Regions from separate parts of the Homo sapiens genome. Here region 1 is linked to region 2. The links are contacts of gene promoters, found by promoter capture Hi-C in human tissues and cell types (Jung and others, 2019). All regions are on one chromosome and are shown on one strand. Each heading gives the region's core, a stretch centred on a gene start or on the middle of the fragment in contact. The rest is flanking DNA. Distances are from core to core; before and after follow the strand shown.

Region 1 (2,700 bases), core at 40-2,539, 790 kb after region 2:
GTTAGGAAATGCACATGACAAATGACCTGGTTTCTCCCACAAATAAACTCCACAGAAAAAAAGAGGCAAGATCTAAGATAGAACCTGTAATTGAAAAAAAATCTTAAAACATATATTTTAAAACTAGTAAATTAAACTACAACCCTCAAAATGCACATCTGAATAATAAGACTACAAAGAAAAAATAATCACCACAGAAGTCAGGATGGAGATTATCTGGGGGATGAAAGGGTTGCAATGTGGGTTTCTGGGTTAGCTGGCAATGTTCTACTTTTGACCCTGGGGTGATTACAAAAGTTTTCACCTTATATAACCAAGATAGAAAATAAGAGAAAACAGATTAAGAAAATTAGAGGACCAATCAGAAATATCCAACATGTGAAAACAGAAAAAAAGTGGAGAAAAAATTATCAAAGTAAAAGAAAACATCCCAGTACTGAAAGAAGTAACCAGATTGAAAAGGCCACAAGTGTCCAGCAAACTGAACAAAAAAAACCTGTTCTAAGAAAATCAAGGACAAAGATACTACGTTTACAAAGAGATAAAAGGGCAACTAACAAGGGACTGAGAATAATAATCATTATAGCAATATTACAAGTCAGAAGACAGTGGAACTATTCACTTAAAAATCTGAGTGAAAAATAAATTCTGGGTGAAAATCAACCTTATAACCAGTCAAATTATCAATCAAGGGACTAAAAAGAGTAAGTAAAGCTGGGCTACAGTGGCACACTCCTGTAGTCCCAGCTACTCCAGAGGCTGAGGCAGGAGGATCGCTTGAGCCTAGTTCAGGGCTGTAGTGTACTATGATCATGCCTGTGAATAGCCACTACACTCCACCCTGGGCAACACAGAGAGACCCTATCTCTAAAATGTATTTTTTTAAAAAAAGAGTGTATGTGTATGAAAATTAGAACATTTTCAGCCATATAAAGTATTTAAAGATTTATCCCCCAAGCACACTTTATTTGAGCTTAATAAAACTAAACAGAGGGAGTAAACCAAATAAAAGGCAGGCACGGAATGCAAGGTATGTCACACAGAAGGGAAGAGAAAGGAATTCCCAGGATGGTGGTAAAGGAAAGCCCCAAGACAACTTCCATGCAGCAGGTCTAGAGAACCAGTCCAAATTAGAGCAGAACTCCAGAAGAACTCCAGGAGGATATCTCTAAGAAAAATAAATGGCACTGATAAATTAGATGACAGATTGACATTGTGGAAAAGTGCACTGTGAGACATTTTGTGGAACTGAAGATGTATGAAGATTTTAATGTTCAAAGAAAACTAGGCAAATTTTGTTTTTTAATGAGGCAATTTTTAAACATAGTTGTATAAGAAAAAAATGTAAATCTAGAAATAACAGCTAACAAGTATTTGACACTATTTTAAATTTTTTTTTTTTTTGAGACAGAGTCTCACTCTGTCGCCCACACTGGAGTGCAGTGGTGTGATCTCAGCTCACTGCAACCTCTGCCTCCCGGGTTCAAGCGATTCTCCTGCCTCAGCCTCCCAAGTAGCTGGGATTACAGGTATGTGCCACCACGCCTGGCTAATTTTTTGTATTTTTAGTAGAGACAGGATTTCACCGTGCAAACCAGGATGATCTCGATCTCCTAACCTCGTGATTTGCCCGCCTTGGCCTCCCAAAGTGCTGGGATTACAGGTGTGAGCCATCGCACCCGGCCTCTAAATTCTTTACAAGCATTAACTAACCCTCACCACTACTTTGTGGTACCATATTCTACGTGGTTCTTCATATGTAAACAATTTTTATATACTCACAAATGAAAACAGTTTAAAATGTTTTATATAACTATACTGAAAGAATGAGGAGAGAAGCAATGAATTTCTTTCTCATCTAACATGTTTATAGAGAAAGCTTTCTCTATAACATTATGTTTCATCTAACATTATGTTACAGAGAATATATTTATAGAGAAAGCTTACCCCCTTATTCCTCTCCTCATTCATTCTCATCTAACATTATAAAAAATATATAAAATTGATGAATCTAAATGCAGTGCTATTTTATTTAGAGATATAAAGAATTAGCTAAGGGTTAAAAGTTATTGCCTCTAAGGAGTGGGAAGGGGCGGAGGGAACAGAAAAGAAACTACATTGTTTTGGTAAAAAAGCCTTTTAATTTCAAAATTATCTGATTTTTAAACTTTTAGCAAGTAGCATGCCATTAAATATTCCAAATTTACTTTTTAAAAGATAGAAAATGATAAAAGCAGTGAAGACAAACCAAAAGCAGTGAAGACAAACCCTTGGTAACATCAACATCTATGGTAGTGTTTCAAAAGGATATTTTCTGAATACTAGTTCTAAAGAATGTTAATAGTTGGTATGTGAAAAAACTGTTTCAATAACCAATTAATATCCTCAGAGATATGAGAAAATATTACATCCATGAAATAATAAGGAGCTCTAAGAAATAAAATTATAGCCAAAATAAAAATTTCAAGAGAAGAAAAACCAAACATATATAATAAGAGAAAACAGATTAAGACAACCAAAGGCTCATCTAAGACATCCAGCACATGAAAACAGAAAAAAGGTGGGGAAAAAATTACCAAAGAAAAAGTAGAAGACGACATCCCAGTAACCAGGTAAACTGTGGGGCTTTTTCACAAAAGGACTTCTTGGAGATTTTAATATGTTAAGAAATACTTTATATATAGTTTTCTCTGACATGAG
Region 2 (2,700 bases), core at 30-2,529:
GGCCTATAATCCCAGCACTGTAATCCCAGCACTTTGAGAGGCCGAGGCGGGTGAATCACCTGAAGGCAGGAGTTCAAGACCAGCCTGCCCAACATGGTGAAACCCCGTCTCTACTAAAAATACAAAAAAAAAATTAGCCAGGAATGGTGGCGGGCGCCTGTAATCTCAGCTACTCAGGAGGCTGAAGCAGGAGAATCGCTTGAACCCGGGAGGCGGAGGTTGCAGTGACCCAAGATTGCGCCATTGCACTCCACCCTGGGCGACAGAGCAAGACTCCGTCTCCAAAAAAAAAAGTCAGGGACGGCCTCCTCTCTTTTAGATGCCGTCCCTAAAGACATGCACACAATTTATACCTAATTGGCTAAAACGTAGTCACATAGCCACATTTGGCTGCAAGAGAGACTATAAAATAAGCTATTTTAAGCTGGGAAGCAGTGTGTCCATCGACACAGTGTTCTGTGACTTTAAATAAAAAATTGGTTTTCTGTCATGAAGTAGAGACTAGGTTTGGTGAGGCACTCATTCATCCTTTCTCACCTCCAACAATAATTTGCGTTTACTTATTTTTTCAACCCCTTCCCATCCCCTCAAACATAGTTCTCTACCTTTTATCTCAAAAGATAACCAAAGAAACCTCTTGATTCTGGTCATACTCTTCCTTTCACTGTGACAATAACAACAACAACAACAACAACAAAACCTTATTCTTCTCCTTTACAATTTCTTTAACGTTTTTTTCTTTTCTGCTATTCCCAATCCCTAAACACCATCTCACGTTTAGATTATACAGCTTTCCACTTCGTCTCCCAGTTCCTGCGAGCACCTTATATCCCTTTTACCCCAACCAAGTCCTTAAATTTTATTTATAGTTAGCGTCACAATACACGAGTAAATATTGTCTTTCTTTAAAAAGCACAAATATCTCAAACTTCTCCCTTGGACATACCAATGGCTACATTAAGCTCTTTAGAACGTAGAAATGAAAGAACGCCTCCCGGGTTCAAACGATTCTACTAAACAAATGAAAGAACGAATGGCATGTAAGTGCGTTTTTACAATTCATGTGAACGGGTACGCTAAGACCCTCTGTCACTGCGGGCTTCGCCGCCCCGATGAAGGTCTTTCCCAGCAAAAATCTGGCTTGCCTTCTACAGCTCTGAAATGCACACTTAAACCCAGGCCCTTTGTCTCTGACCGCCCTGGCCTGAACTGGCTGGGCGGAGATTCTCGCGAATTCTCGGATCTGCGCGGAAAACGCGCTCGAGGCAGTTCTCTGACGCATTTCCGGAGCGCCAGGGAAGAGGGAAGTCGTGGTGGTCGCGAGGGAGCCGGAAAGATGGTGGTTACCAGATCTGCACGGGCTAAGGCCAGCATCCAAGCCGCGTCGGCTGAAAGTTCCGGGCAAAAGGTAGGAAATCCAGTCTTCCCTACTTCTCGCCGCTTCGCAGAGCCGCGCTCAGGCAGGCGGGGCGGCGCAAGGGTCCGGTTAAGGGTGAGGACCTGCCGACAGAGAGGACCCGAGCTTGCCGCGCGCTTGGGTCTCCCAGGCCCCGTGCTAAGCCTGTCACGGAAACTGTTTAGCCTTCACCACTGTCTCTTAAGGCAATTTTTAGTATGGAAGAGAGGTTAGATAACTTTATTTGGGTCGTTCAACTCCTTAATGCAGAAGCACAGTTCGAACTTTTAAACCTTACTGTTAACACGGTACCAAGGAGGGTTAATTTCGGCCACCATGCACAAGCCCCATTTAGGGGGGCTGGAAAAAAAGCTTCGTTTTCACGTGGGGAGGCTGGCAGCTGTCCAGCATCACCTCCTTAAGGCGTGAGGAGGGCTGTGGTGTCGTCGCCTGGTGACTCTTAGTGGCGTTAGTCGGCTGTCTCATTCTGACTCAGCGATGCAGGGAACGGAGCGGCGGCGATTTTTTCCTGTACGTAAAGGTAAGGGCGGCGACTGATTCCATCAGTGTGTTCCTAAACACATCGGTGTTCAGAGTTAATATTCCCTTTCTCCCCTCTTCTATAGGTGGGTCAGAATGTTGGTCTACCCATTATATTTGACTTTAAACAGAAAAATTTTAATCGTTCTGCTTCTGAAGTTACATCTAGGAAGGATGAGGCTAGTGAAGTAAATGCAGGGTTGGCTCCAGTGTTTAAATTTTGATTTTTTTGTTTGTTTGTTTTTGATTCGGAGTCTTGCTCTGTCGCCCAGGCTAGAGTGCAGTGGCGCAGCCTCGGCTCACTGCAACTTCTGCCTCCCGGATTCCAACAATTCTTCTGCCTCAGGCTCCTGAGTAGTTGGGATTACAGGTGCGCACCAACACGCCCCGCTAATTTTTTTACTTTGAGTAGAGATGGGGTTTCACTATGTTGGCCAAGCTGTCTCGAACTCCTGACCTCGTGATCCACCTGCCTCGGCCTCCCAGAGTGCTGGGATTACAGCCGTAAGCCACCGCGCCCGGCCAAATTTTGATTTTTTAAAAATCATGAGTTGGGCAGGTTTTTTTGTTTTTTGTTTTAAAGGTAATCTTGTTTACTGGGTTTTAGCTTTTGGGGTCAGTATTTCATTTGCTTTGCCCTTGTTCCAGCCCTACCTAAATTACAGTGTGTTTTCTCTGGTTTGCAGAGTTTTGCTGCTAATGGGATTCAAGCGCATCCAGAAAGTAGTACTGGATCTGATGCCCGAACTACTGCTGAATCACAG

The links. The method cuts DNA at HindIII sites, captures the fragments that hold promoters and counts their contacts. A contact is called where the count stands out against the background at its distance.
Region 1: a contact is called between a fragment that was not itself captured here and the fragment with the promoter of DNTTIP2 in region 2, in 1 of the 25 tissues and cell types used here (stomach).

What each region holds. Positions count from the first base shown.
Region 1 is chr1:93,091,886-93,094,585 of GRCh38, reverse strand. All of the region lies in intron 1 of MTF2 (metal response element binding transcription factor 2), which reads right to left. Among named protein-coding and RNA genes, the nearest start is that of MTF2, 14 kb to the right of the region's middle. The HindIII fragment of the contact is 6,936 bases long and covers 1-2,700 here.
Region 2 is chr1:93,877,785-93,880,484 of GRCh38, reverse strand. DNTTIP2 (deoxynucleotidyltransferase terminal interacting protein 2) reads left to right here and starts at 1,279. Exons shown (of 7, transcript NM_014597.5): 1 at 1,279-1,408; 2 at 2,623-2,700. The coding sequence starts at 1,337. RefSeq lists enhancers at 457-1,272, 1,124-1,553. The HindIII fragment of the contact is 10,129 bases long and covers 1-2,700 here.